4 separate regions of the Homo sapiens genome follow, and all the other regions are linked to region 3. Evidence: promoter capture Hi-C in 16 types of primary human blood cells and fetal thymus (Javierre and others, 2016). All regions are on one chromosome and are shown on one strand. The core of a region is centred on a gene start or on the middle of the fragment in contact, and the rest is flanking DNA. Distances in the headings are between cores, read along the strand shown.

Region 1 (5,709 bases), core at 2,868-5,367, 480 kb before region 3:
TGGAAGCAATCTAAGTGTCCATCAATGAATAAGGGGATAAACAAAATGTGGTATATACGTAAGATAGAGTATTATTCAGCCTTAAGAAAGAAGGAAATTCTGGCACATGCTACTACATGGATGAACCTTGAAGACATTATGCTAAGTCAGATAAGTCGGTCACAAATCTATGATTCTACTTTTATGAGATACTGAAAAGTAGTCAAATTCATAGAGACAGGCAGTAGAATGGTAGCTGCCTACGGAAGGAGAAATGGGGAGTTATTGTTTAATGAGTTCAGAGTTTCGTTTTTGCAAAATGAAAAAATTTCTGGAGACGGATGGTGGTAATGATTGTAAGTCAATGTGAAGGTACTTAAAGCTACTGAACAACACAGTTTAAAATTGTTAAATGGGCTGGGCACAGTGGCTCATGCCTGTAATCCCAGCACTTTGGGAGGCCGAGGTGGTCAGGAGTTTGAGACCAGCCTGACCAACATGGTGAAACCCCATCTCTACTAAAAATAGAAAAATCAGCCAAGCGTGGTGGTGGGTGCCTATAATCCCACCTACTCAGGAGGCTTAGGCCGGAGAATCACTTGAACTCGGGAGGCGGAGACTGCAGTGAGCTGAGATCGAGCCACTGCACTCCAGCCTGGGCGACAGAGCGAGACTCTTGTCTCCAAAAAAAAGATTAAACGGTAGGTTTTACGTTATATATATTTTACCACAAACAACAAAACTTTCTTGCCTTTGCATTTCTCTCATCTAAAATCTTTGTAAAGGCAATTTCTATTTCTTTATTCTTTCACAGAAACTTCTCTGTAAAACCTCCCATTCTTTTTACATCCGCAAGTCCAATGGTCACTAAGTCTTCTGACTCCATCCCACTATTACATCTGATAGAGACCCTGGTATGCTGTCTTTGTATATCTCTTCTTTATGCTTTCCTAGTTCTCTCCCTATCTCTCCAATTACCCTGTTTTTGGCATCTTCTTCTGCTCTGTCATGTACCAGGGTTTTGTGTATAGGCCCCACCTTTTTATTTTACAACCTTTCTCTATACAATTTTGGCTACTCTTTTGGTCTTAACTGCCTCCTCTATGACCAATTCTCAACAGACTAAGACTAAGAAAGGTATCATGGCCCCGTGGAATGGTACCAGAGTCAGCTAGAGGCTTCCAAGTACTTTCTTCCTCATTCTGATTCATATTCAGTGCAACTGGAAAACAATCCCCCTTTCTTTCCTCAACTAGACCTGTAAGGGCAAGGACTACATCTTTTTTGTTCTTACCTTCCCAATACCCCGTACAGTGCTTGGGAACACTGGACATGCTCAAATCTTTGAATGAAACTCCAGGCCAGCACTGTCCAATAGAACGTTTTACAATGATGAAAATGCTTTATGGCTGTCCCATATGGTAGCCATTAGCCACACGTGGCTATTGAGCATTTGAAATATAGCTAATATAACTGCAGAACTGAATTTATATCTTTTTTTTTTTTTTTGAGACAGAGTCTGGCTCTGTCACCAGGCTGGAGTGCAGTGGCACAATCTCAGCTCACTGCAACCTCCGCCTCCCAGGTTCAAGCCATTCTCCTGCCTCAGCCTCCCGAGTAGCTGGAATTACAGGCACACGCCACCATGCCCAGCTAATTTTTGTATTTTTAGTAAAGACGGCATTTCACCATGTTGGCCAGGATGGTCTTGATCTTTTGACCTTGTGATCCACCCACCTTGGCCTTCCAAAGTGCTGGGATTACAGGCTTGAGCCACCACGCCCGGCTGAATTTATATTTTAATTTATAATTAAATAGGCACATGTAGCTAGTGGCTACCGTAATGGATAGTGCCTCTAGAAATCCCTCTGGTTATACTGTCTTCTAGCTTGCCTCAGGTTATAAAATATTATTTTCCGGCCGGGTGAGGTGGCTCATGCCAGTAATCCTAGCACTTTAGGAGGCTGAGGCAGGCGGATCCCCTGAGGTCAGGAGTTTGAGACCAGCCTGACCAACATGGAGAAACCCGTCTCTACTAAAAATACAAAATTATCTGGGCCTGGTGGCGCATGCCTGTAATCCCAGCTACTCAGGAGGATGAGGCAGGAGAATCACTTAAACCCGGGAGGCGGAGGTTGCGGTGAGCAGAGATCGCGCCATTGCACTCCAGCCTGGGCAACAAGAGCAAAACTCCATCTCAATTAGAAAAAAAAAAAAAATCTTCCTTGCGGTCACAAGAGAAAAGATTTTGATATATCCTAACTCAATAGGGCTGGATATTTGCTCCCATATGTTTCACTATCAAAGAACATAAAATGAATTCATGCAAATTCTGAAAATTTGGGCTTCTTCTGTAACTTTGTATGATGGGTTTACCCTCTAAGTGTTGCTCCTTGGCCTGATGCACTGTCACTATTCCACTCAGTTAATGGTCCAAAAGAGAAAAGAAAGCATCCTACCATTTTCACAACGTAGAAGGCCATGGCATGTAAGTGTCGGGTAGAAGTTCCACTAACAATCACAAAGTAATCTGTATATCTCATTTCTGGAGGAACCTGGATCACACAAATGTCTCTTGCATTTTCTTGCCTCAGAAGTGAAACCATCATATCGATGTCAAACTTGGGACCAGTATGATCTGAAATGCACAAATAGTTGTTTGTATCAGGATGGCCAAGCAGATAGACGTGTATGCACCCAGAGATGCCGGCAGCTGACTGTTCCTCCATGAGGGTGTTTAGATCCAAAGTGTTTTTACAGATAGCAGGGTAAAGGCCTCCTGGAAGGTGAACCTGGGCAGTAGTATCATAGCACCGCTCAACTTTTATGGTCAGGGTGCTCAGATTACGCAGAGCCACTATACATCCTTCGCTATTAACCATATGCAAGTAGAACCAGACACCAGTGACAAATGACTTTCTACTAATACTTAAAAGGAGCAATACACCACAATCACAGAAATGCTGTGCAAAGAAAAACAGCACCACAAAATGGGTAGGAGGTGATATCCTGGAGCATATTAAATTGAATCTCAGTCATAACGGGTCACAGAATTGTGAGCTGGAAGGGCTCTTAGGCAGTATCTGGTCCACAACCTTCAGTTGAGAGATGAAGAAACTGAGGCCTAGGAGAATTACTGTGGCCTAAGATCAGTCACTGAAAGAGCTACATTTTTGAGTAATTATTATTTTGAACCTTCCAGTTTTCATATAAAACCACCGGGTTATTAACAACTGTTACCTATGAAAATCTAATTTTTTTTCCCGTAAAGATTTAGATATTCTGATCTTCAGCTTGGAGTATTACAGGCTGTAAATTTAAAAGCTCGCCCAAGTTCTAAAGCCGACTCCAAAGGACCTAGTAGCTAAGCCCACTAAGGCCTCTCCCTCTCATACTCTACATTCTTAGATGTGATCTGTTTACCATTCTTAAGTTTCTAAAAACGTCAGCAATAACTAGAGGATATTAACTTGGACCCATCTCCTACTGGCGCTTCCTACGCACCCCTTCGCACCCAGACCCTGGCTCCTCAGAATCCTCAAGCCCCAACAGTCCCCACAAACCCATTTCCCAGGATCCTAGGAAGAGGGTAAAAGGAAGTGAGGACGGTGAGACTGTGATGCCAAGGGTGGGAGATGGCCGTCCGGGAGGCTGGGATTCTGCAGTTCATCTCTTGCCCTCAATTTCTTCACTGTGAAACGGGAAGGTTGGCGCCAACAACCTTTGAAGTCCCTTCCAGCTCTGGATGTGCAGGAGTTTTGTGACTCCAAGAGAAATGCACATAGAGGGGAACCCAGAGCCACCTTGGCTGGGACCTGACTCCAGACTGCCCGGAGAGGGTCGCCTTCGTTCTTCTCCACGCCCGTACCTGCCGCGTCCGATTCTGGGCGTCCCTCGTTGACCGTCCCCTCCGCCCGCTCCTCCAGCCCAGGCTCGCTGTGCAGGCCGCGGACAAAGTTTGGGGTCTGGCAAGCCCGGCAGAACGCTGCTCCTACGGGAAGCCGCTGCACGGCCAGCAGCCGAAGCCCGGGCTCGGCTCCAACCGCGGACCCCGCCACCGAGGAAACCGCCCTGCGCCACATTAGTGGGGCGAGCAGCCGCGCCACACGGCCGCCCGGCCCCATAGCAGCAGCCTTGCGTCGGCGTCGCGGGTGGGTGGTACTTCATGGAGCCCGGCCGGGAAATTCTACGTCGATGCGTGGGCGGAGTCAAGGCCTGAAGGACGGACCATGGGCGGAGTCTGGAGCCCGTGAAGACTGCAGTGACCCGGAAGAGCTACTTGGGGATTAGGGCGTGCGGGAATAAAGAACTAGTGTTGCTTGCCCACCTTGCTTTGCTTTGTGTCGCAGTAGCGCATTACGTTGTCACTTTTTTTTTGGACTCTGTCCACTAATGTGAGGCTCATGAAGGCAATAATTTTTGTTTCATTTTTAACTCTTCTCTCCACAGCACCTAAAACAGTTCCTGGTACTGAATGTCCAGAAGTTGCTGTTAATCTGATTAGGCTGGGATTAGGACATATAATCTACCCTCTCTCATTACCAGAAAATATTCAAGATTCCCTTGCAAATTTGAAATTGCGCGAGGAAAATCTGTTATCCTGGGCTAGAGTGGGGTGGGAGGCAGAGGTGTAAAGGACCATTTGGAAACCGTTCTTAGGTCAGCCCATCATCTACACTCCCTGTATGGAGGAGTTTACGCCCAGGGGCGGTACTGTGGGGACCAGCTCTGTAAGAATAAGGAATTCTGAGGTGCCAGCTGCGGTATTAAGTCACAGGACTTGAGAACTGCGATAGATTCCTGGCACGGGTGGGGGGGTGGGGGGTTTTGGGGGCGTGGGACGCCGCAGGGAAGCAACTTGCCCAGGTCATACACTTACTGACTGCGTCAGAATCAGAAGCCAGTTTCTGGCTTCTGAACTCCAGGCCTGCTAACTGCTGAAAGGAAGGCTTCATAGAGAGCAAATATTTCAAATGCCTGAAACAGTGCCAGACACATAGCAGGCACTCCAAAAATGTTTGCTACATTATTTTAAATAATTCCAAGCACTAATTTTGGGAAGTTTTTTAAAAATAGAGAAATTAAGCATTTGTGTATATCACACCAGATATGTACAACCACTTCAAGTTATTTTTGAAAAGAAGAAAAACATTACAGATTAAGTTTCCTCTGTCCAATTTTAGCCCCATCCTCAATTCCATTTTTCCACAGGCATGAACTTGGCTTTTCTCCCAGCTTCTGGCATCCATTCCGTGTTCCCACCCTTCTCTGAACATCCCAGACCTGCTTTACCACCTGTATTTGCCAGCTCATTTAATGGGTCATTATCCCTTCAAAACTCCCAAACCCTAGACTTCATTCAGTCCAGGATCTTCATACAACAAACGAATCTGTTGTCAAAATCCTGCTTATGTGACCTCCAAAATGTTTCTGTGAGTTCAGCTTCTTGTCTTCATTTCCACTGTTTCTTCCTTAGTCCACACCCTCATTAGTTCTTGCCTAATTACAGAGACTGCCTCCTACCTGGCTTTCCTGTCTCCAGTCTGTTTCTACTCTTTTCATCCTCCATGCTGCCCTTCTATCAACTACAATCATTTTCGCTTTATCTGCTTTTTGCTGTTTTTCAAACTCACCATACCCTTTTTTATTTTTATTTTTTAAAGAGATGGGGTCTTACTCTTGTCACCCAGACTGGAGTACAGTCACACAATCATAGCTAACTACATCCTC
Region 2 (5,712 bases), core at 1,071-3,570, 270 kb after region 3:
ACCCAGGGAAAAGCTGTAGGAGATGTGGCCAGAGAGGAAACACTGGGCCATTTCCAAGTCTGGTGGCCTTGTTGGCACTCCGGCATGAACTCTGAATGATTCAGAGCAGCTTTACCTGAGTTTGCCACCCTGAATCCAGTGCATCAGAGTCCTAGGGAGGGATATGTGTGAACCACATGTTTTAGCCTTCCCATGAGTAGCTTAACCCGGTCCCCATCCTGACACAATTTCTATTATGTTCAAGAGAATCACCAAGGCTACTGTGTTGAGGATAAACTATAATGGATCAAGGATGGCAATGAGGGGAACTTTAGGGGGCCATGGCAGTCACTCAGGGAGACAAATGGGAAGTCTGGAGTGGTGGTGAAAGGAGATGAGGAAGACTAAGAATCTGCAGGTGGTTCTCCAGGGGATTCCAAGTTGCTGCACCTGTACACTGGCTTAGAGCTCGTGGAAGCAAAATTTAGGGGTGGGTGCTGCTGCCAGCCTTGCCTAAGTTTCCCCTGCTGCATCCAGGGTGTCCTGGGGCAGAGTGAAGAGTGTGGGGATGAAGCAGCATGTTTAGCCCTAGCAGAACCCAGGAGCTTACCCCATGCCCAGGCCACCCACATGCTTACAGCAGAGTATTGCTGGCAATTCCTGGTCATGCTGGTGCATTTCCTCTTGGAGTCAGACATGTGGGTTCTGTGATGATTCTCTGAGTCCAGGATTTATCCAGCCCAATGGGTACCTCATTAGCACCCATGTTATTTTTGGGAAGAGGTAAAGTCAGGAACTGATTTAAAGATATCCAGACCCTCTGTTGCAGGTTGAATTGGGTCTCCCCCAAATTCCCAATACCTCAGAATGTGACCTTATTTGGAATAGTCTTTGCAGATTTAATTAGTTAAGATGAGGTCACACTGGAGTAGGGAGGGTCCCTACTCTGATATGACTGGTGTCTTCATATAAAGGGGAAATTTGGAGACAGCCATGCACACAGGGAGAACGCCATGCAAAACAGATAGGGCTGATGCATCTACACCAAGGAACACCAAAGATTGCTAGCAAACCGTGAGAAGCCAAGACAGAGGCTTGGAACAGATTCTCCCTCACAGCCCTCAAGGAAACAAACCTGCAGAGACTTTGATCTGAAACCCCTAACCTCTAGAACTGTGGGACCATAAATTTCTATTGGTTAAACCACCTGGTCTGTGGTACTTTGTTGCTAGGCAGTCCTAGCAAACTAATACGCTCTCATTATCTGAGACCAGAAACTCCCCGCATCCCCCACCATCTCCCTGCACTGGTTCCAGATCTGCTGGCTCTTGCAGATGGCAGCCTACCCATCTGAATGAGAGCAGGATGTGGTAGAAGGCTCCAGACTCCGCATCGCTGCTTCAGTGAGAAGGCTGTTCTGTGTTACTTAGAATAGGACTGCTGTGCTCTGGTATTTTGTCAACAGCATCTTTCAGGACCCTCTGGAGAACTCGGTGCTTACGCCCCCACTATGATGTTTTTAGAGATGTGTTTAGCCTATCATTCATGCTTGGCTTTCTTCTTTCACTATGTACATATGATGAGCTATAGAAGTATGCATTTGGCATGATGAAAGTAATTTGAGGTTTATCCATTTAAAGATATTTCCAGATGGGTCTCTGCAAGGCTGAGGCCACAATTAACTGACAACTGTCCGCTGGCTATAAAAATATCCAATGCATTCAGAAGTTTTTGAGGGTATTGCTGGTATTCATTCTCACTTCTCTCTCAATAAGAACACTCCCTCTCATCTGTGTATTAGAACTTTGTTCTACAGTAGCAGCTGCTCAGCATCCTTGGGAGGCCTGAAAGGAAGGTTGCAGCCACAGAGCCTTCTGACACTCGCCGACTACTCAGCACCCTTCGTGCTTTTGAAGCAGTGTGGCGGGAGCATTCTGCAAGGGGGTTTCTCTAGACCCTGGACCTGATGGGGTAAAATCAAAAGTGATGGTCAGACATGTCCACTAGAGCAGCTAGGGTTAAAGAGACTGGAGATAGCAAGTGATGCAGAGAAACTGGAACTCTTCTACATTACTGGTGGGAATGTAAAAGGGTTAGCCCTTTTGGAAAACAGTCTGGCAGTACCTCATGAAGTTAACCAGACATTTACCACATGCCCCAGCATTCCCACTCCTTAGGTGTTTACCAAAGACAAATAAAAACCTGTGTGTACAAAAATGTATAAAATTGTTCATAGCAACTTTATACGTAAAATTCAAAAACTGGAAACAACGCAAATGTCCACCAATTTGTGAATGGATAAACAACTTGTGGTATCTCCATACCCTGGAACAAGACAGAAGACACACAACAACGTGGCTGAATATCAAAACATTATACTAAGTGAATGATGCCAGATTTAAAAAGACTGATTCCATTTGGAAAACTTTCTGGAAAAGGGAAACCTAGTAACAGAAAGCAGCCGAGGAGTTGCCTGGGGCTGTGTGGTCACAGCAGATGTGAAGAACAGTGAGGTAGGAGGGAACTTTTAGGATGATAGAACTGTTCCATGTTGTTTATGATGGCAGTTAAATGATTCGATACAATTACCAAAATTTCTCAAACTGTACACTTAACCTTGGAAAATTTTATTCTATGTCAATAATCCCATCAACAAAAAAAGAGGGGTGGAGGATAAAGTGTCAGCCGGCAAAAATAGCGACCAAAATCAGGCTATCAAACCAAGACCCCACCACAGTCCAGGGCTTGAATTCCAAGTGGCAGGAACCCAGTCTCTTCCAGCCTCTCCCGCTGCTGAAAGTGGGAATTCAGCCCACACGCCCCGCTTTTGCGAACCCGGCAGTGCAGATGCGCCTTCCTGTGGCCAAAGCTGCTACCTGCAGATGTGCTGGCGGGGGCCTGGCGCTCTGAAGGTGGCTGCCACCTGTGTCACTGCCATTTCCCTGGGGCTGCGGCACTGGGCCTCACCGCCCACTTCTGGGCGGTGTTTTGGGGGGTTGGGGTGGAGATTTCCTTCTCCTATGTCCCACCCAGGTGCCTTGCTGAGTATCGTACCTACGCTCAGGTGCCAAGCACCGCTGCCCATCGCACAGGTACCTCTCCGATGCGCTCCCTCCTCGCCCCGCTGGAGGGTTAGGGACTAAAGTAGGCTGGGGGGCAACCAGAACCTTCTCAGGCTTTCGCTCGGGCTCTGTTTGCCACACACCCCCGCCATCACCACCACTACCTTCCTGCCGACACTAGTCTTGCCCGCTCCTAGCCCTTGCAACGTCCTGCAGATGCAGCGCCATCGCCCCTCTCCATCCCCCACTCCGAGGCCAGCACAGTTTATTTTCCTTCCCTAGCCCAGGGAAGGATCAGCCGCTGTTCTGTCCCTTCTCCCAGGCTGGCTTGCGGATTCCCGCCCCCGCGGCAGCAGGCGAGTCCGCTCCTTCGCCCCCGCCCCTTTTGCTCGCTTTCTCCCACTTCCCACCGCTGACGCCTCCTCCGGAAACCCCTCGCTATCCCAGGATGAGAAATGGACGGGCTACAGCCGTACATATTTTCCTCACCCCACGGCCACCACGGCACCACCTGGGAAAGGGGCCTGACCGTCGAGATAGTTTGAGGCTGTGCTTGGTACCAGGCTCCACAAGGAGGAGGTATTCGATAGACATATTTGGGCAGTGCCAGATTCAACCATCTCTTTTACGAATTTTGAATTTGAGACATCATTATTTTATTCTTTTAAGGCAAACATAGGCAGGTGGTACACTGAAGCAGTTTAAACGGGTATTCAACATAGGCCAGTCTCACTCCTTGCCCACTGCCCAGGAAAATCATTTTCAACCTCGCATTTCCTTCCAGCCATTTCCCAAGCATGAATAAGTTTGTCTACATAAGCAAATGAGACCAACCTATCAGTCTTCCCTTTGTTCCTTTAAGGTACTGTGTCTTGGGAAATCTTTCTACATCAATACAGAGAGGGTTACCGCATGCCTTTAGAGCAAAGGCTCTTTAAGTGTGGTGGCCAGGCCAACTACACCAGCATCTCCAGGGAACTCGTTGGACATGCGCATTCTTAAGCGCCATTCCAGACCAGTTGAATCAGAAACTGGTGTGAGGCTTGTTGGTTCGTGTTTTAACAAGCACCCCATGCTCAGATTTGGGGTGGGGTGAGGAAAAGATTTGCTCCATTTCTTATTTCATTGTTTTGATGTGCCATAATTTATTTAGCTCCTTTTTCTTTCTTTCTTTCTTTTTTTTTTTTTTTTTTTTTTGAGACAGAGTCTTGCTCTGTCGCCCAGGCTGGAGTGCAGTGGTGCGATCTCGGCTCACTGCAAGCTCCGCCTCCCGGGTTCTCACGCCATTCTCCTGCCTCAGCCTCCAGAGTAGCTGGGACTACAGGCACCCGCCACCATGCCCGGCTAATTTTTTTGTATTTTTAGTAGAGACGGGGTTTCACTGTTTTAGCCAGGATGGTCTCGATCTCCCGACCTCGTGATCCACCCACCTTGGCCTCCCAAAGTGCTGGGATTACAGGCATGAGCCACCACACCCGGCCTATTTAGCTCTTTAAAAAAAGAGTTTTGAATTGTGTTTTAAGTAATGAATCTGACAGTCACACTATTTAAAGATTATTTTATTTACATAAGCCAATAAAAGGAGAAAGTCAAAATGAAGAACCATTTTTAACTCCAAGAAAAAATTCACAGGTTTCCTGTGGACTTGTTTATTATTACAAGACCCAGGAGGTCATATTTAGTGATTAAGTGTATTCTGGTTGATGAGCCATTAAATCTCTTATGCAAACACAGTTTTCAAGAGAACAAATGAGATCCTTTAAAATAGGCATATGTGCAGTTTCCAATAACAAACATACATGTTCTCAAAGTTATGGGTCAACAGTCCGTTAGATAATTGTGAAAACAAACCTTTACATATTAGGAAAGCTTTTGGCTCTTTTTAGTAAACTGATTTTGACAGAAAATTAGCTTCATCTGCACAAGGTACAGAAAAAAGTATAGACTTATTTTAATGTTGCAGTAATTGGTTGGTAAATATTCTCTAACTTTTCCCTCTAATCTTTCTAAACAATGGATCATGGCTAACCAGAAGCCCTACTTGTATCTACCAAAAGCACTTGTATCTACAACTTTTTCATTCAAAGCTGTCATAATACCATTGAAACTTGTGGTCCATAGTTTCAAACTGTAGTTTTAACCAAGAATGAATCAAAGTATTCTGGCTTACACTTTTCTACTTCACTCAGTCCTCTAAATAATGGGCATTTAGACTACTTGCAGTTTTTTGCCTAACGAAGTCATTGCTTCAGTGGTCTCTTTCTACACATGTACAATTATCGTGGAGGATAGGTTCTTAGAAGTGAACTATTGTGTCAAAGGTTATGTGCATTTTACATTTTATGAGTATTGCCGAATTTTTAAAAAGAGGTTGTTGCAATTTACATGATATATTTTAATGTATGTTTTCCACATCCTTGCTAACATCTTGTGTTTTTTTAATTTTAAAAACTTTAAAATATTTTGCTTAAGTGCAAGGCAAAGGAGAGTGGTTTCCTATTGTCATCATTTCATTTCTTTAATTATGAGCCATATAGGTGTCTTTTCCCATTTATGCTTCTTTCCCAATCTTCTATGGTACAGAAGGTTTGTTTGTTTGTTTGTTTTTTACTAATTTGCAGCTGCTCTTTATATGTTAAGTAAATGAGTCCTCTGACATCTGTGTTGCAAA
Region 3 (5,920 bases), core at 2,021-4,520:
TTAAGGGCAGTTTAAAAAAAAATCTTATATCTCTAGTGCCTAGCATATAATAAGGCTCAATGAATGTTTGAGGAAGGCAAATGACTTTGGTATTTTTAGCCCATCTGGCAGGATAAGTGCCACATTCACTGCATTCTTACTATGTATGAGGTATTTGAATAAAAAGATGAGAAACAGTTTCTGCATTGAATACATGGACACTAAGAAGGGAGCAATATACATGGGGACCTACTTGAGGGTGGGAAGAGGGTGAGGATCCAAAAACTACCTATCAGGTACTATGCTTATTGCCTGGGTGAGAAAATAATCTATGCACCAAACCCCCACAACATGCAATTTACCCATATACCAAACCTGCACATGCACTCCCTGAAACTACAGTAAAAGTTTGAAAGAAAAAAAAAAAAAAGAAATAGCTTCTGTTTTGGAGGAGCTCAGATAACAGCAAGGGACAATATAATGACTAAGAGCAACCAACTGTGTGATCTTTTATCAATTATTTAATATCTCTGAATCTCAGTTTCCTTATCTGTGAAATGAAACCATATATATCCTTACAAGAATTAGTAAAATAAGCTATAATGCAGTGCAATCTTACAAATTCCTGTAAGGATTAAAAGAACAATTATTCAGCCGGGTGCGGTGGCTAACGCCTGTAATCCCAGCACTTTGAGAGGCCGAGGCGGGCAGATCACGAGGTCAGGAGATCAAGACCATCCTGGCTAACACGGTGAAACCCTCATCTCTACTTAAAAAAAAAAAAAAAGTACAAAAAATTAGCTGGGCATGGTGGCAGGCGCCTGTAGTCCCAGCTACTTGGGAAGCTGAGGCAGGAGAATAGCGTGAACCTGGGAGGCGGAGCTTGCAGTGAACCGAGATCGTGCCACTGCACTCCAGCCTGGGTGACATTCCAAGACTCCATCTCAAAAAAAAAAAAAAAAAAAAGAACTATTTTTCAGCACTTAACACAGTGACAGGCATAGTAGACACAGGTTGTTATTATTCATGATGATGAGCCTAGCAGAAGAACACTATAATATGAGGTGAATTTTTTTTTCTTGTTTTTAAAGATGTGGTCTCACTCTGTTGCCCAGGCTGGATTGTAGTGATGAAACTGCCACTGTAAAATTATAACTGAGACGGCGAAAGACATCTGACATCACCAACTCCATCTTGCTTCTAACCTCCAAGCTGTCCTTGTTCACTCCTGGGCATAGGCTGAACTAACTTTGGAAAGAACTTTTAGTTTATAGCTTAAAACAAAGATGATAACAGCCCTTTCCCTAAACAAATCCCCTTCTTGCCTAAAAAAATTCTTTTAATCCTTACAGGAATTTGTAAGATTGCAGTGCATTATAGCTTATTTTACTAATTTTGTAAGGATTTAAATATATATAGTTGGCTTCATTTTACAGGTAAGGAAACTGAGATTCAGAGATATTAAATAATTGATCAAAGATCACACAGTTGGTTTGTGCTTTTAGTCATTATATTGTCCCTTGCTGTTGTTATCTGAGCTCCACCAAAACATAAACTATTTCTTTTTTTTTTTTTGCTCTTTCCAACTTTTACTTTAGTTTCAGGGAGTGCATGTGCAGGTTTGGTATACAGGCTAACAGATTAGCGAAAAGATTAGACATTATGGTTTAGGAGTCATGCAGCTGGAGGCTACAAGATTCTGACCCTCCCCAAATTGCTCCTGGGGATAACAACTCTATTGTAAAGCCTAACATCAGTGTTTGAGATATTTTGCAGACCCTGCAAAATGGATCAGCTGGAACCACCCAGATAGGTAAACTGGCTCATCTGATCTTGTGGTCCCAACCCAGGAACTAAGATTCTGACCCTTCCCAAATTGCTCCTGGGAATAACACTATTGTAAAGCCTAACATCAGTGCTTGAGATACTTTGCAGAGCCTGCAAAATGGATCAGCTGGCACCACCCAGATCGGCAAACTGGCTCATCTGATCTTGTGGCCCCGACCCAGGAACTGAGGCAGTACAAGACAGCTTCCACTCCCTGTGATTTCATCTCTGACCCAACCAATCAGCACTTCCGACTTACTGGCTGTCTCCCCACGCACCAAATTGTCCTTAAAAACTCTGATCCCCGAATGCTATGGGATACTGATTTGAGTAATAATAAAACTCTGGTCTCCTGCACAGCCAGCTCTGCGTGAATTACTCTTTATTGTAATTCCCCAGTGTTGATCAATCGGCTCTGTCCAGGCAGCGGGCAAAGTGAACCCTTTGGGAGCTTACAGCAAGTGACCCAATCACAGCTCACTGCAGCATCAAACTCAAGTGGTCCTCCCGCCTCAGCCTCCCAAATAGCCAGAATTACAGGCGCAAGCCACAGAGGTCAGCAAGGGGAAATTTTTAGGAGCACAGACATTGGGCACAGAAAACGACTACGTACCTTCAGAATGAGGCAGGAAAGTCTTAAAAGTCAAAGTCTTAGAAATGTCTTACAGCCTTAAAAATCAATTAAGTCTTAGACCTGGGGGGGTCAAATCTCAAATACGACAGCAGCCAGAAATTTATTACATCAGAGGTTGGGAATCACTTGGGAAACTTCAAAGGCAGATCAATGGCCAGTTCCCAGCCCCAAACTCTTTAGAATTTCTAGGAGTAGGTCTCCAGCGTGAGTATGGTTTTACCTCTCCTAAAGTGATTCTAATGTGCAGCCAGGGTTGAGAACCACTGCCATTCTAAACCAATGAGGGCAAGATGGCCAAACAGAAGTGTCATTTCCTATTTAGTCTCCTTGATTGTTGCAATGGAATTCCTCAGCTTCAAAAGTCCAGAATTTCATGTGAGATTTCCAAATTCTAAAATGTTGGCAAGTAATTAAAAGAAATTTTTTTAAAAAAGATTGGGATCAAAGAAAACATGGATTCGGGCCCTACTGAGTGTCACTTCGTAACCTTTTTGCAGTTCAACCTCAGGTTTGAACAACCTGATTCTGAGAAGTTAAATAATTTGTCCACGGTTACACAGCCAGTAGGAATAAGAGTTAGGACTAAAACCCAGTCCCTCTGAATTTAATTAATGTTCCTTCCATGAGAAGGAAGGAACACCTGAAGATGCGTTTTAAAAATGGGTAACAGAAACGCGAAGTTACCGCCAGCCATGATCGCAACCACGCATGCGCCTACTACTGCCGGCGAGGCGGAAGAGCAGGGAAGGTTAAAGGCGATGAATTACGACCTCTGCTGGCGACGCTCACGACTCCTGCCGTAAAGGCCGTGTGTGGCGCCTGCGCACCTCCTTTCCCTTTCGGATTCCCGACGCTGTGGTTGCTGTAAGGGGTCCTCCCTGCGCCACACGGCCGTCGCCATGGTGAAGCTGAGCAAAGAGGCCAAGCAGAGACTACAGCAGCTCTTCAAGGGGAGCCAGTTTGCCATTCGCTGGGGCTTTATCCCTCTTGTGATTTACCTGGGTCAGTGGGAGAAGAACCGGGAAAGTGACTGGAGGGAAGAGGGTGGCGGAGACAGCAGCCCCATTTTTGGCCGTCGGGGGAGGGAGAGAAAAATAGGGGACACTGCCGTGCACGGCCCCTGAGGCTGTCTGGTCAAGTGGGGCCGATCTAACCTGAGTTCGAGTTCCCGTTCTATCGCTTTATAGTTGCATGGTCTTTAAGCAGTCTTGCAATCCCTCCTTTTCTATTTTTGCATCCTTAAAGTGGAGGTCATATTTCTCGGGATTGTAGGGAGGGTTGGATGACCCCAGTGGATGTGAAAGTCACTAATTCACTCTCTAGCACTAGGTGGTTCTCGGGGTGTTTTTCCTCACCGCTCCATGTGGTCCTAAGTGGAAAGAGTCCTGTTCAGGGAATCGAGACACCTCGTGAAAGTACCACTGCCATGAAAGCATGATTATAATAATAGTCGTTGGATGCCTCTGCTTTCTTACCTGTACGATGAAGGGTTTGGATGATTTCTATTACTGCCCCCATTTTACAGGTGAGGAAACAGCCGTAGAGAAACTTTTTTGCCAAGGTCGCACAGCTATGCTGACTGAGGGAGTTAGGGGCTCAGGCAGTGGGGCATCAGAGCCCATAGTCTTAACCATTATAGCGCACTTAAAGGATTTGGGGTTTTTTTGGTTTTTGTTTTTAAGACAGAGTCTCGCTCTGTCACCCAGACTGGAGTGCAGTGGCGCTATCCCGGCTCATTGCAACCTTCCCCTCCTGTGCTCTAGCGATCCTTCCACCTCAGTCTCCCAAGTAGCTGGGACTACAGGCTGGTGCCAACAGGCTCGGTCACTTACTGCAAGGATTTGTTAATATTTTTCAGTTAGGGTTGCAGACTGGGACCTATTCTGTAGTTTTTTCTTTTCTTTTCTGTCTTTTTTTTTCCTTTTTTCCTTTTTGAGACAGTCGCTGTGTGCCCAGGCTGGAGTGTAGTGGCGCGATCTCTGCCCACCGCAATCTCTGCCTCTCGGGATCAAGCGATCCTTCCCCCTTAGCCTCCCGAGTAGCTGTGATTACAGACTTGCAGCCACCGCTCGCGGCTAATGTTTATATTTTTAGTAGAGACGGGGTTTTGCTTATGTGGGCCAGGCTGGCCTCAAACTCCTGGCCTCAAGTTAGCTACCTCCCCTCCAGCCGGCCTCCGCCCCGCGCGCGGCCTCCCAAAGTGCTGGGATTACAAGTGTGAATCACCGCGGCCAGGCTGTAGTTTTTTCTTTTTCTTTTTTTTTTTTTTTTTTGAGACGGGGTCTGCCTCGCCCAGGCTGGAGTGCAGTGGCGCGATCTCAGCTCACTGCAAGCTCCGCCTCCCGGGTTCTCGCCATTCTCCTGCCTCAGCCTCCCGCACAGCTGGGACTACAGCGCCCGCCACCATGCCGGGCTAATATTTTGTATTTTTACTAGAAACGGGGTTTCACCGTGTTAGCCAGGATGGTCTCGATCTCCTGACCTCGTGATCCGCCCGCCTCGGCCTCCCAAAGTGCTGGGATTACAGGCGTGAGCCACCGTGCCTGGCCAAGTTTTTTCTTTTTAATTTTACTGCCCCACTCAGGCAGTTCGGTGAAAGGGAAAGAGCAGGTTTTTCATCCCAGCTGTGTCAGTTTGAGCATATAGTTTGACAATTGTAAAACTCAGTTTCACATTTTAAAATGCTATGGTTTTAACAAGGTGCTGCTTCCTATTTAATTTAGGTGTCATGCATTGTATAAGATAAAGTACACTCTGACTAAGCAGCTGTGGTTTCTATTTCTCCATGAGTTGCAAGCCAACTGATAACCTGGGATTATAGAACTTAAAAAGACGTTTTTCTCCCTTATTCTGGGTGCAATTTTTTAAAAAAACATTACTTTTCTAGATTTTAGTGACTTTGTATGGGTACCAAGGATTAGAGTAAATATGACAGTTGGTGTTGTCCCCACTATTCTTGCAGCACCTCCCCCCACACCCACTTCTTTCACTTACTGATAGAAGGGCCTACTCTGGCTGGTCAAACACTGGGACTAGCTCCCCTTTTAGCTAAGAGAGGTGTGGAAGCTTGATTCTTCCCCTTCTTTGTGCCACCTTTTTTCACTGCGTGTACGAGGTCCTATTTTAGCGTGCTCTTGCTTTTTGTGTCCCTTTGGTTTTTTGCTTCTCTGTAAGTCTTTTCATCTACTGTTCCCTCCTCCTCCCTGTTTTGAGATTCCGTTTCTATTGCTAGAAAGCTGTAGCTGGTTGCTGCAATCTGCATGCCAGGGGCTTCGTGTAAGAGTGGATAATGCATTCCTTTTCCATACTAGAGTTTATCTTTCATTTTATGCACACTGGCTATATTCCCTTCCTAGGACTACCGTTACGGTGATTTTCACCCCAACATTCAATTCAAGTTATATGAGATTGGTGTTAAGGTTGTCTTTCCAGTACTTGTCTATCATTGTCTTTTCCTTTATACTGTATATTTAATTTTAT
Region 4 (5,175 bases), core at 1,760-4,259, 270 kb before region 3:
TAAGAAGTGCATGTTAAATCCAAAATGAGATAGGCTGAGTTGGGCAGATCACTTGAGGTCTGGAGTTCGAGACCAGCCCGGTCAACATGGTAAAACTCTGTCTCTACGAGAAATACAAAAAAAATTTAGCTGAGTGTGGTGGTGGTTGACTGTAATTCCAGCTACTCGGGAGGCTGAGGCACAAGAATCACTTGAACCTGGGAGCAGAGGTTGCAGTGAGCCAAGATTGCACCACTGCACTCCAGCCTGGGCAACGGAGCGAGACCTCAACTCAAAATAAATATAAAAAAACAAAATGAGATAGGTTTTGGCATCCATCCATCCATCTGATTGACCAAAATTCTACAGGGATACAATACCAAATATTACTAAGGATATTTAGCATTTATCCATTGCTGGCAATATTATAATTTGGCACAGTCACTTTGGACAACAATTTGACGAAATCTAGTAAAGCTGACAATGCATACTCCCTAAGCAACTTCACACCTAGACTGGGCATATCTACAAGGAGAGATATATGGGAATAGCACATTCATGGCAGTATTTTTTGGTTGTAAACAATCTAAATGTCCACTTATAGGAAAATAATAAAGAAGGCACACTGTACCATAATTATATTGCAGTAAAAAATGAGTTAGAGCCATAGGAATAAACATAGATTCAGTAACATAATATAGAGGAAAGAAAGTAAGATGCATAAAGATGCACCATTATGAAGCCATTAAAATGGTGTTGAAGTGTAAGAAATAGTAAACCAATGTATTGTTTAGAAATTGACACATCGGTAGTAAAAGTATTATTTTTTAAAAAGTATGTGAATGATAAACACCAAATTAGTATAATGGTTAGCTACGTGAGGAAGGGAGATGGGTGAATTTTAGGTTGAGTTCACTTGAAGCTTCGACACTTTGGGTAATGTGTGTTTTATTTTTGTTTTGTTTTTCTTAAGCAAGATGCTAGGTACATGGTTATTATGCATTTTGCATATCTAATCATCTAATTATATAATATTAAGTTTATCTATATTAAATTTAATTTATATACAAAAACCAAAACAAATGAATGATTAGCAAAAAAAAAAGGGCAATAAACATGGAAACTAGGAATATTCAAAGTGTTACCACTCTAAAAACGAACATCACCATCCTTATGTCACTTTAAGCTTATGATTCTGACATTGTTTATAGTCCAGAATCTAAATTATTTCCCAGTTATTTCCTTTTTAAAAATTTGTACTTGGGAATATCCCAGTTTTATCAGTCTCAAACTGCATGGTCCAGTAGTTGCTTATTTCTTGTCTCTTCTTTTTTCTCAGATCAGAAATTAACATTTTCTCCTACGTATTATATATCTGCTCCATCAGAAACAATCTTCCTTATATTTTATATTATTTTATTTTTCATAGGATATTTGCATATTTATTATTTCTTATGATATTTTACATGTGTTTCTCTTTTAAGGATGGGAATATAATCATAGAAAGGCTAAGCCATTTTTCCAAAGTCACTTTGCATGTGGTTGAAGCATGATTAAATTTCAGGTTCTAATTTTTAGTCCACTGGGACACTAACTACTCTTTTCTCCACCAAGTGTCACAGCTTCAATATTTCTGCTCATGTCAAAAGGTGCTCCTTATGGGGGAGGGGATGGGGAACGTGGATGGGGGGAAAGAGGAGCATGTCTGCCTACTCTCACTTAACCAGCCAAAACATTTTGCTTCTTTCCCAGACATCCACTCCTTTTACCTCTCGAAATAGCTCTGCCCCAAGGAAGGAGTAGCTGCTAATCTAATTGGTCAGAGCCTAATAGTCATTGGGTACCATTTTACTAGTGGGTAGAGTCACTATGCATTTAAAGAACGGCACCCACACTCATCACTCATTATCTAATTCTATGAAGTTGAAAAATGCCCAGGCAGGGCTTGTATCTGTTGGGCAGGTCTATTTATTTGAGCTTCTTCCAGCCTGCAATTTGATGTGTAAGTCAGGCTGAGCTCTGCCCCTCTGACACGGCCATTTCTGATTTAGGGGGTGCTGGCCAGGGTGGGAGGCTGTCTGCCGAGTTGCATTCTCCACTCTGGCTCTGCCAGAGTTCTGCCTTGAGGGGCTGTGAGTGCTTCTCTAGCTGTTCATAAAATGGTATTTTCTCCCTTCTGACTCTTGCTTCTCACGTCTACGGGTGGCTTTTATACTTGGGTACCCTGCCTGGTAGGGCAGTGGGTTAGTAGTAGGATTCTCAAAACTCAACTCTAAACTATTAATACCGTTTAGCACCCAAATTGGCACATATTGTTCAGCAATGCCTCCCTTCTCAGTGAAAACAAATTGTCATTACTCTTTTTTGCCCTGGCATGACTGGGGAATAAACATTCTCTTTATTCTTCAGGACTCAAGGGTAATATATAATGCTTCCTACTCTGTCCATTTTACTATTTTTTTTTTTTTTTTTTTTTTGAGACGGAGTCTTGCTCTGTCGCCCAGGCTGGAGTGCAGTGGCATGATCTCGACTCACTGCAAGCTCCGCCTCCCGGGTTCATGCCATTCTCCTGCCTCAGCCTCCCGAGTAGCTGAGACTATAGGCGCCCGCCACCACACCCAGCTAATTCTTTTGTATTTTTAGTAGAGATGGGGTTTCACCGTGTTAGCCAGGATGGTCTCGATCTCCTGACCTCGTGATCCGCCCACCTCAGCCTCCCAAAGTGCTGGGATTACAGGCGTGAGCCACCATGCCCGGCCCATTTTACTACCTTTTTGTTTTGTTTTATCTATTTCACCAGCTACCATAGCTTTATCACATATAACTGTCAGAAAATGACTGTGATAAAAGATAATAGGAGTTTGATGTGACATAAAAGAATAACTTGAATAGGAGTGAATGTTTCTTGATAAATACAATTGACACTGAGTGATTTCCCTCCTAGAAATAATTCATTTACATTCATCATAACAACCAATAACGGAAAACACAAGTTTGGTCTGCTTTTTTATTTCAATTTTATTTAGATTAATGTTAAATGGTTGTCACTATTTCTGTTAGATTATATCTCTTAAAATAAAATGCTTTGAAATTATTTAGTATATGCTTTTGTCTAGCAAATAGAATTTTATCATTGCCAACAAAAGAGAATTACCCATGGCTGTGAATGTTCACATATGGAAAGAGCCCCAGAAAATTGCCTTGATCCCCAATTCCTGCCCGCAAGGCTCACAATCATATAAAGTAAGAAAATGAGGGATTTAAGCTGATAATTAGTTTTAAGTATTTAAGCCATGTTTTCCTTCAGTAAAATAGACAAAAACTACCATTTAGTGAGCACTTACTGTGCGCCAATCACTGTGTTACGTATTTTCTCTATATAGTCTCCCTTTACCTTCACATGCCCCTCTGAGCTTGGTGCTGATAATTTGGGATTTGTGAAAATTAAGAACATCTGCTCTTCAAAAGGCACTGTTAAGAGGACGAAAGGACGAACTACAGTGTGGGAGAAAATATTTCCAAATCACATACTGATAAAAGTCTTGTATCCAGAACATATAATGAACTCTCAACTCAGTAAGAAAAAAAAAACCATTTGGGGAAAATATGGGCCAAAGATTTGAGGAGATAATTCTCCAAAGAATATACATAGGTAGGAAAAAATCACATGAAAAGATGCTCAACATTTTTATTTATCAGGGGAATACAAATTAAAACCACAGTAAGATGCCACTTTACACCTGAAAGAATATCTAAACTTAAAACAGTTGACCATATCAAGTGGTGGTGAAAATATGGAAGCACTGGAGCTCTCATACACTGCCAAGTGGGAATGCAAAATGTACAACTACTTTGGAAAGCAGTTTGGCAGTTTCCTAACAATATGCCTCCGATATGAATTAGCTACTCCACTCCTAGGTATTGACCCAAAAGAAATGAAAGCATACGTCTTTACAAAGACCTGTATGTAAATGTTCAAACAGATTTATTTATAATACCCAAAAACTGAAAACAACCCACTATCCATTAGTAGGCAAAGGGATTTAAAAAAGGACTGTATCCATATAATGGAATATTCTGCAGCAATAAGAAGGAATGAACATACAACAAATGCATAAATATCAAGATAATTATGCTGAGTAGAATAATATAGACAAAAAGTACACATTGTATCATTCTATAAATGTACACATTTATAGAAAGTTCTAGAAGATGCAAACTAATATTTAGTGACAGAAAGCAATCAGTGGTTGCCTGGGACATGGGTTTAAGAAAAGGAGGAATAAGAAGATAGGATTAAAAAGATGTATGAAGCCAGGTGCAGTGGCTCACACCTGTAATCCCAGCACTTTAGGAGGCCGAGGCAGGTGGATCACTTGAGGCCAGGAGTTAGAGACCAGCCTAGCCAACATGGTGAAAACCCATTTCTACTAAATGTACAAAAATTAGCCAGGCGTGGTGGTGCTTGCCTGTAATCCTAGCTACTTGGGAGTCTGAAGCATGAGAATTACCTGGACTCGGGAGGCAGAGGTTGCAGTGAGCCGAGATTGTGCCACTGCACTTCAGCCTAGGCAATAGAGTGAGACTTTCTCTCTCAAAAACAAAAAAGGATAGAGAAAGCATTTTGGGATACGGATATGTTCATGATCTTGATTGTGGTGATGATTTAACGGGCGCAAAAATTATCTAATTGTACATTTTAAATATATGCAGTTTATTTTATGTCCATTATACCTCAATAAAATTGTTTTTTAAAAAACAACTATGAGGCCATGGAGGCTTTTGTACATTTGAGCAATAAATGTTATTTGAACTGCCTTAGTACTTTTAAAAGCACCTAAAGATTTAACAGATTTAAGCTGGTAACAAGCTTGGAGATATTGGGATCACTTTTTGTTTGTTTGTTTGTTTGTTTGAGACAGAGTCTTACTCTGTTGCCAGGCTGGAGTGCAGTGGCACAACATCGGCTCACTGCAACTTCCGCCTCCTGAGTTTAAACAATTCTCCTGCCTCAGCCTCCCGAGTAGCTGGGACTACAGATGGTGTGCCACCACGCCCAGCTAATTTTTGTATTTTTAGTAGAGACGGGGTTTCACCATGTTGGCCAGGCTGGTCTCGAACTCCCAACCTTGTGATTCACCTGCCTTGGGCTCCCAAAGTGCTGGGATTACAGGCTTGAGCACTGCGCTCGGCTGG

The links. Contacts are between HindIII fragments. The CHiCAGO score rates a contact against its expected background, and 5 or more counts as called.
Region 1: the fragment with the promoter of MALSU1 here is called in contact with the fragment with the promoter of TOMM7 in region 3 in 7 of 17 cell types (total CD4 T cells, neutrophils, total CD8 T cells and 4 more); the score reaches 9.5 in total CD4 T cells.
Region 2: a contact is called between a fragment that was not itself captured here and the fragment with the promoter of TOMM7 in region 3, in 8 of 17 cell types (endothelial precursors, total B cells, naive B cells and 5 more). The highest score is 7.8, in endothelial precursors.
Region 4: a fragment that was not itself captured here is called in contact with the fragment with the promoter of TOMM7 in region 3 in 3 of 17 cell types (neutrophils, naive CD8 T cells and monocytes); the score reaches 6.4 in neutrophils.

What each region holds. Positions count from the first base shown.
Region 1 is chr7:23,297,747-23,303,455 of GRCh38, reverse strand. MALSU1 (mitochondrial assembly of ribosomal large subunit 1) reads right to left here and starts at 4,117. Exons shown (of 4, transcript NM_138446.2): 1 at 3,848-4,117; 2 at 2,439-2,617. The coding sequence starts at 4,103. RefSeq lists an enhancer at 3,811-4,300. The HindIII fragment of the contact is 9,022 bases long and covers 1-5,709 here.
Region 2 is chr7:22,547,555-22,553,266 of GRCh38, reverse strand. No RefSeq gene overlaps it. Among named protein-coding and RNA genes, the nearest start is that of STEAP1B-AS1, 13 kb to the left of the region's middle. The HindIII fragment of the contact is 5,185 bases long and covers 1-4,912 here.
Region 3 is chr7:22,820,199-22,826,118 of GRCh38, reverse strand. It overlaps TOMM7 (translocase of outer mitochondrial membrane 7), which reads left to right and starts at 3,270. Exons shown (of 3, transcript NM_019059.5): 1 at 3,270-3,442. The coding sequence starts at 3,340. It overlaps LOC112267993 (a long non-coding RNA gene), which reads right to left and starts at 3,162. Exons shown (of 3, transcript XR_002956543.2): 1 at 2,420-3,162. RefSeq lists enhancers at 3,040-3,249, 3,280-3,359, 3,029-3,789. The HindIII fragment of the contact is 22,456 bases long and covers 1-5,508 here.
Region 4 is chr7:23,087,148-23,092,322 of GRCh38, reverse strand. The region is part of intron 1 of LOC105375186 (a long non-coding RNA gene); the gene reads left to right. Among named protein-coding and RNA genes, the nearest start is that of KLHL7-DT, 16 kb to the left of the region's middle. The HindIII fragment of the contact is 3,684 bases long and covers 1,168-4,851 here.